2 separate regions of the Homo sapiens genome follow, and region 2 is linked to region 1. Evidence: promoter capture Hi-C in 16 types of primary human blood cells and fetal thymus (Javierre and others, 2016). All regions are on one chromosome and are shown on one strand. Each heading gives the region's core, a stretch centred on a gene start or on the middle of the fragment in contact. The rest is flanking DNA. Distances are from core to core; before and after follow the strand shown.

Evidence for each region. Contacts are between HindIII fragments. The CHiCAGO score rates a contact against its expected background, and 5 or more counts as called.
Region 2: a contact is called between the fragment with the promoter of ACTBL2 here and the fragment with the promoter of GAPT in region 1, in 4 of 17 cell types (naive CD4 T cells, fetal thymus, total CD4 T cells and 1 more). The highest score is 5.4, in naive CD4 T cells.

The regions. Positions count from the first base shown.
Region 1 is chr5:58,488,875-58,493,300 of GRCh38, reverse strand. GAPT (GRB2 binding adaptor protein, transmembrane) reads right to left here and starts at 1,866. Exons shown (of 3, transcript NM_001304431.2): 1 at 1,760-1,866. The HindIII fragment of the contact is 6,945 bases long and covers 1-4,130 here.
Region 2 is chr5:57,480,429-57,484,854 of GRCh38, reverse strand. ACTBL2 (actin beta like 2) reads left to right here and starts at 2,044. Exons shown (of 1, transcript NM_001017992.4): 1 at 2,044-4,426. The coding sequence starts at 2,148. The coding sequence ends at 3,278. The region is part of intron 1 of RMEL3 (enriched in melanoma 3); the gene reads right to left. The HindIII fragment of the contact is 2,872 bases long and covers 738-3,609 here.

The DNA of each region.
Region 1 (4,426 bases), core at 617-3,116:
TCAACAAAACATTATTACTGTATATTTTCAGTCTAGACATAGACATAGATCCAACAGTGCCTGTGAAATGATTATTATCATCTATGGAATGTTATTATCATCAATAATGTTTAGTTAAGAGTTTCAGCTTTTAAAAACTGTTACAGGGATTATCTCATTTAATCCTATAGCTGCTATATGTAGTGGGTACTATTCATATCACCATTTTATAGATAAGAAGAGAGGCTTAAAGAAGTTAAGTAACTTCCTTACAACCAAAATGTGACTGAATGAGAATTCAGGTAAAAATTTCCCCAAAATATTATTTATCCAAATATCTGTAACATGCTACTAAGTGCATCAGTCAGAAAATTTGTATAGCTTGATTAGCTCTGAGGTTCTCGAAGGTTGGAAATCATATATTATTTACCTTTGTATTACCAACACCAGCATTAGACACAGAATGACTAATCTATTAGACATTTGTTAATGAATGAAGTAATCTCCTTATGGGATAATAATAGTAACAATGAGAAGAAAAATAGAAATTCACAAAGTGGTGCTCTGCTTTCAGTGAGTTTTCATGAAAAGTTTAATGGTAATGAACGTTCATAAATTTGTCCAAGGTTAGAATATATTAATATGCAAATATTTAATTTGACATTTCATAAAAGAAAATTAAATAAGATGTGCAGCTAATTTATACAATTTTTTGATAAAAATACAGGGACAAGCACCCCAGATGCAGAAACATTTTAATCTCCTTGGAATTTTTGGGAGTAATATTGAGGTTGAGAACTGTATGGTCCGCCACATAAGATTTACAATCTGCAGGGTCCCTCCTTTATAAGGCCAGCCGTGCTTGTGTTCAAGGACAAAAGTTTAGCCAAATGACTTTAATCATTAGGACCTCATTTCCTGTCTGAAACAGATGAGCACCAATTATCTGCAAGATATTTTATGGTATACATGGTTAATGATTTAAGAAGTTATTTGCCAGAATATTTGAAATAAATTTACAAAATACACTTTAAGTATTGATTGAAATTAATCAACTTTTTGAAAGATACTAGGCCTGCAACAGAAGTCACGGTGAGGGTTGAGGAAGGCTAACTATTGTCACTTCTGTAGCTGAGGATAAGGCAATAAATTACTCTCTTAATTTTTAAGAAGAAAAGGCATTTTTACCATCTATGTTATTCTATGTAGAGTAGAAATTCTGGTACATCCAAAATATTAAAATTGTTTGTCTAAGAGATATTTACCAAGATAAAGACAAGAAGACTTTTTACAGAAAAAGAAATGCATCATTTTCTTCGAAATAACATTAGAGGAAAAAACCTGTGAGACATGAACAAAGACCTACTATAATGAAAAACATATTTTAAACAATAACCATTCAAATATAGTTTAACACTTAAATAATGTTCACTTTGACCAGTTTGAAAGAAGACTCTGTTTTCATTTTGGAAAGCAGTTCCAACAGGTTACCTAACAATTTGACATTTTTCTTAAAATCGCAAATTGTTGAGAAACTTCAGGAATTTTCAAGTAAGAGAATGCCCTGCTGTTTGGAAACAAGGTAACAGCAAAGCATAATCATATTGTAAAGAAACATTAACATCACTCTCAGTTTGTAAATTGGGTTTCCCCCTTACAGCTACGTAAGGCATTTTTTTCTAAAAACTGTAGTAAGATAAAAATCATTGATTAATTAAAGACAAACTTGTTTCTTATAGTGTTTAATCATCCAAATACCTTAAATCAGGTTCTTACTTACCTCAAGATTGGTGTGTCAAGCTCTCTCTTTTGTTCTTTTGGTTATGTTTTAAACCTGCATTGGGTTAGAACTTGTTCCTCTTTTTCACTTTGGTGGGTTACTTCCTTCTTTCCCTCCTTCGTTCACGCTATTTAATACTTGCAAAGTTTCCTGGCTCTAGAGGAAGTCAGTATCAGATGCAGCAGAATTAAGATAAATGGCGTGAGGTTTTGAATAAGGAAGTCTGGCCCTTCATCTTTGTCAAGTAATAGTTTTTTAACTGTGTCAGAAAATAATACGTAAAGCCTACATGGTTTTTTATTTGGGCCATATTTGCAGTTCCCACTTTAATATCAATAAAAGTCACTTCACTTGTACTTTGATTTTTTAAAAAAAGAAATATTTTAATTGTAGTAACACATAGGTCTTGGGCTTTTATTATTATTATTATTATTTACTTGTGTTGCTAGACCAGTCCTCTCTTCAAATATTAATATTATGTACCAATGCTCCCAAGTTATAGCCATACAGGTCAAATCAGTGTCCCAATTTGGGTTTGGAAAATGTTAACGTTCTTTTAAATTTATAAATAGGAATTTCCTAAGGTATGTTTTGAGGCCCATTACCCCTGAGATATGCTAGCAGCTCTTCCATCAAGTAAATGTGGGGAATACTGCTTCCCTGGAGATTCATGGGTACATCAGCATGCTAAAGGCTCTCAGCAGTCTTACAGCCAGCAAACAAAATAAAACCAAATAAGAAAAAGAAATTGTTTAACTTTGCTTAATAATAGTAGTCAGTATGTTCCTAGCACTAAGTACTCCAAACCTTTTGTGTAATACTCAGCAAATCTTGGCAACAACCCTGTGAGGGAGAAAAACTGTTATTAGTCCTATTTTACAGAAGAGGAAACAGAAGCACACAGAATGATCACTTGCCCGACAGAGCCTGCAGTTTGCCCCCAGCACCTGTGTGCTAAACCACTGCACTGGCTGCCTTGCTAGATTGAGTAACATGTTTCCCACATAGATACGCTTACCAAGAGCATCTCTTGGAGTCCAACTCATGGGAACACACACAGTGGGAGATGCTGAATTAGACAAATTACAGATGAATTCGACAGATGAGATGACAAAGTAATGGAAAATTTGTCTTTTAAGTTGTCTTGGAACTTTTTGAACCACAGAGGATTAACTTTGCATAAGGTGGTTTTAAAAAAGAGGATTTAGTTACTGAAATAACTACTGGACATTGGAAGGACAGGACGTATTATTAACACTTGCTGAGCACTGACATTATGCCAGGCATTGTGCTAAGAGATGAGGATGCAAGAGTGAATAAGCTCCCTGCAGCACTTAAAGCCAAGTAGAGAGGCTGCTGCGCCCACAGAACATTTCAGATCAAAGTGATAATGCCTAAGAAAGACAGGATTATGGACAGGGACAGTGGAGGTAAAGGAAAGAGGCATCCAGCTCAGAGGGTGGTCAGGGAAGGCAAGACCTGAGCTAAGCCTCATAGAATAAGGTGTTAAGGCAGAATAGGGGTGTCCTGGACAAAAATCTTACAGTGAAGGAGGTTATGAAGTTGTGAAGCTATGAACTTGATGTGCTCCACATTCTCACCACTATATTTAACTTCAGTATTAGCCACCCCTCCAAATAATATACACACTCACCTGCCTAGGCATACATCTGTAAGAAAGGCAATTTATACAATGTTTGTATAAAATTATGATTTTCTCTAGAAGGCAGGACAACTGGTGCTCATTCAGCTTTTGCCCTTTGAAGTTAAAAAAGTTGCTTAACCCCTTATTACTTTAGTTTTTCTAACGGAAAATAAAATGGAGGGAAAATGACTGGCACTTTCCTCAAATAGAATTTTTTTGATGTAATGGATATAATTATTCTTCAAGTTTATAAAAGAAATGCTGTATATATTCAAAATAGAATTATTGGATCATTGTCATTTGTAGGGATTATGTTTTATGTCTTGAATTCTATATTTTCCTACTTCCCAATCTTTGGCCTCGCAAAATACATATTTATTGTCTCCTTTCAGTTCCTTTTTAATCACAGCAATTATGTCTAGGTTTTCTTTTCCTGCTTTTTCTTCTACAGTTATACGGTTTGGGTAGTAAAGGGCTTAGGAAGTAGTTTATTGTTCTGTAGTGTAATATGGACTGGATCTTTCATCTAAGTAAATCTTCCTCTCCTATTAATTGGTGATAGCAACCACTTTACTTAATTGTGATTTAAGTTCCCAGCAATTTCTTGTGTGTCAGTTAGTATCCATTTCTTTTAACCCATGCCCTTTTTCAGATACTTGAACTGAGTAACATTAGTGACGGTAAAAATGAACAAATGTTTGTGTATGTGAATTTTATTTGAAAGCTTGCCAGACTAAAAGCATCTTTCTGGCTATTTTGGAAGGAGCCGCCAAACCCCATGCTACTTGTTAAGGGTATCATGGGAATTTACATTTTAGCATAAAGCATTATGTTACCTCGGAAAGGTAATGCATTTAGTAGCTAACAAATTTATTAACACTAATCGGTTTATGGGATTAACCAAAAAGTAACTAGAGTTTTAATAGAATGTGTCACTACCTTCCAACTAAAAGTTTTTCACTCTGTGGCCCAAAGAGTTATAAAAATTTTAAAGCGGCTGGGTGCAGTGGCTCACGCCTGTA
Region 2 (4,426 bases), core at 795-3,294, 1.0 Mb after region 1:
CAAAATCACACATCAGCCACACTCTCAAGGCATCAGTTATGCTGTGTGGACTCAGTACCAAATATCCCTTAGTTGAAGGTGATTCTAAGGACAGCACTCTAGTAAGTGTAGGATCTAAGGCTGCACTTGGTACTATGTGGGCTCCTCCACTAACATTTCCACCAACTTGGCTTTGTTTTATATTCCAGACCGGAGCATTCATAAATGGGGACTTGTGCTAAATACAATGTGTATTTCATTTTTTCCATTTTGTAAAATGTGCATGTAGTTTGTTATGGGATTTTAAAAAATTCCCAGAAGCACCATCCTATAGCAATAAAATGTTGTTTTAATCAAAAGCTTGGTTGTACTACATAACAAGGAAGTTCATAAAACCATTCAGTGTGAAGGTTTTTAACACTGTTGAAGAAGGAATTTTGCAGTTACAGAAAAGATTAAAGGAAAGGACTGTTTTGGTGAGCCCTAAAGCAAAACCATGGATCTTGTGATGAAACATACATTCTGCCATGACTGATTGTCACCAGAAAGGTTTTGAAGGCATATTACAGCACTGGATAAAATAAATCTATATCAAGCTATAGACAAAGAAGAGGGCTGGATGCTCACAGCTTGATGCTACACCATGACTCTCCAAGAGGCTCACTGGGCAAAGACTCAGGTTAGTTCTCCTGGCCTTGAGCTGGAGGGTGTTTTTTGTCCAGTAAATAGGGGCTGTGCTACCTCTTACAAAGCAAGCTTTATTGGGTAAATGAATGAATGATGAACCCAAATAAAGATTATTTTGGAGAACTCAGATGTAGACATGGAAAATTTCTTTGCTTTACAAGAGCTCACAAAGATAATTATATTCTATTCGCCTAACACATAGGGGAGCAGAAGTAATGAGCTTTCTTAAATGCTATTTCTCTGTAACACATTGCTGATGTCCTACATTTTACCATCATACACATCTTTTCAGGTAGTCTGTATTTCTATATGAAACATGGAACCCAAACAAATTGTTGCTATGAAGTGATCAGGGTGTAATATATCTTGAAATGGAAGGAAAGCTAGTATAATTCTAATTGTATAGATTTTAATAACTACATAGAGGTTTAATGTTATAATATAGTATATGTATCTTGAAGATCAAAATGTTTTAAGGATTAGTTTAAATATATAATTTTTCAAATTTGTCTTATCACTTCATTTTGTCCATTGTTGCAGAACTCAAGAGTTGTTGCAAATAAATAAATTTTTATAACCTGCATCTTAATAAATCATGCAAAATAGTTGACATTCAGTCATTATACAATTAACATGGACCCAATGAACCTGGTTCTATGAACAATGTCTAGACACAGTAAATGTTTAATGAAATTTGGTTGTTAGAAATTTATATCAGAAAAAAGTATCTATATGGGTTAACTTTAGCAATCATTCTATTCCTTTCGCTTGATCTCTGATGGATTAGAAGTCTATTAAATATCTCTACATTTTGCTTGACACAAGTGCATTGTAATTACAGCCATCAGGCCATCCTTAGCCATTTATTATTTTCATTTACTAAAACAGTCTCTACGATGATGACACCCTGTGGGATTAGGAATCTAATGGAAACAAAAATCTTGAAAAAGTGAAGATTGCAGGGTAAGACCCCTCATCAGAACAGTATCTTAAGAATGAAAAGGTAAGCTAGTGTAGGAAAAGTGAATCCTCAGGGACGCTAAGGAGGGAGCCTTCCTCCCAGCAGTGTTGCCATACCTAGCACCAGCTTTCTTTCATCTTGCTTTTATATCCCCCACTGCATCATCATAGTTATCTAGAGACCTCACCAGGCAGGCTGACGGTCATGTGTGGGTTGCCTAATTACAGGAACCTGAGATTTGACCACTTGGCAGCCAATTTTCTCTTTATGTAGAAAGATCTAATTGTTTATGTAATCATCACCATCATTAATACCTCAGAGATGACCTCATCCAGAAATGCTGGGAACTGGTGGAGTAGGACATGGGCGGAGTCAGTGTGTTCCTTTAAATACCTGTGGTCCCGGTGCAGCCTCCCGTGTCTGAAAGCATTTCTGGAGTGTTTTAGGCCTGTTCACTTTCTCTTACTCACTGTCTATTCACTTGTCCTGTTCACTCGTCTGGAAGATCTCAGCCAGCACCATGACTGACAATGAGCTGTCTGCCTTGGTAGTGGATAATGGGTCAGGGATGTGCAAGGCAGGCTTTGGTGGTGACGATGCCCCCCGGGCTGTGTTCCCCTCCATGATAGGGCGTCCTCGACACCAGGGCGTTATGGTAGGCATGGGCCAGAAGGACTGCTACGTGGGAGATGAGGCTCAGAGCAAGAGAGGCGTCCTGACCCTGAAGTATCCTATCGAGCATGGAGTGGTCACCAACTGGGACGATATGGAAAAGATCTGGTACCACACATTCTACAATGAGCTCCGTGTGGCACCAGATGAGCATCCCATCCTCCTCACCGAGGCACCCCTGAACCCCAAGATCAACCGGGAAAAGATGACTCAGATCATGTTCGAGGCTTTCAACACACCAGCCATGTATGTCGCCATCCAGGCTGTGCTGTCCCTCTATGCCTCAGGACGGACCACAGGCATCGTGATGGATTCTGGGGATGGGGTCACTCACATCGTGCCCATCTATGAAGGTTATGCCCTGCCTCATGCCATTCTACGCCTGGATCTGGCAGGGAGAGACCTGACTGATTACCTCATGAAGATCCTGACAGAGCGAGGCTATAACTTCACCACCACTGCTGAGCGGGAGATTGTGCGAGATGTCAAAGAGAAGCTGTGCTACGTAGCCCTGGACTTTGAGCAGGAGATGGTCAGGGCAGCCGCATCCTCCTCACCGGAACGGAGCTATGAACTTCCTGATGGGCAGGTGATCACCATTGGGAATGAACGCTTCCGATGCCCTGAAGCCATTTTCCAGCCTTCCTTTCTGGGCATTGAGTCCAGTGGGATCCATGAGACAACCTTCAACTCTATCATGAAGTGCGATGTGGATATTCGCAAGGATCTCTATGCCAACACCGTGTTATCTGGAGGGAGCACCATGTACCCAGGCATTGCTGACAGGATGCAGAAAGAAATCATAACCCTGGCACCCAGCACCATGAAAATCAAGATCATAGCTCCCCCAGAGCGGAAGTATTCTGTTTGGATTGGGGGCTCCATCCTTGCCAGCCTGTCCACATTCCAGCAGATGTGGATCAGTAAGCAGGAATATGATGAGGCTGGTCCTCCTATCGTTCACAGAAAATGTTTCTGAATGGGCTTCCATATTAGTGGGCTTACATTTTCCCTTTTCCTAGGTCACAGTGATGGTACTGCTTTTATCCGCTTTCAGTAGAATCGAGGTAAATACGTCACTCTTCCTAGTGTAAACCAGCAAACCCATCTCTCCATCCAAGTAACCTGGGCTCTTACCCAGATAACCACATCCGGTTCTCCATCAAGTGAAGGTGAATTCTAATACCATATTCCTTTTTCTTTGCCTATACTGTTCAAAGATAGGTAGGCCAGCTTAAATACATATAAGTGACAAGGAGTAAAATCACGAGAAATGTCATTTCAGAATGGATAACTATAATTATCAAGCTTTAAAACTTAGTTCTCGCTAAAATATTTAACAAGAACAGGCTGTATAAACTTGTTTAAAAAAAAAAGGTGCGTATGCATTTAGCAGCCGTGTCTTACTAGTTAAGTATCTTTGTTTTGTTTACTTCTTTGTATGGAGATAATGAATTATAAAGTTCAATAATATCCATATATACATAAGCACCAGGGAAATAAAATATATTGTGAAATATGCTGATGTATCTAGCTATCTGAACAGCTAATGTGAATTTCTTTACTCCCAAAAGTCATCGTTGTACTAGGTACATATTTTAATTGTTTCCCTTACTAAATAAGCATAATGAGACAGCCACCATTCCATTAATGTTTATAAATCATCTAAATTTTCAGCTCATAGTGGAGTTCTGCTGGTCAAATTATATTTTAATATCTTTCTTACTGAACCTTCTCATACCAAAACTACAGACAATGTCTAATTCTTAAGAGAGATAGATATTATAATATCAAATTAATGTCATTATGGTACAATTTGACAGAGGTAATTTTATTTCTATTTCTTAGTGTAATAGCACATCTTAAATAATTTCTGTAGACCAGGATTACAGATACTTCTCTTGTGCAAGGATTTCACTGTGGGAAAATATAGCTGCAGCATCTTTATTAATTATACATTTTACTACCAGTATACTAACACAGTTTTATCCTTGGAAAGCTTTTAGAATAATTCTACTTTATTATGTCCAGTAACTAGCAATACTTATTTATGCAAAGTGTCTCTGAGATACTAACATCTTTGAAAATATCAATGTATGTTCCTATAATGTCTAAAATATTTTAGTT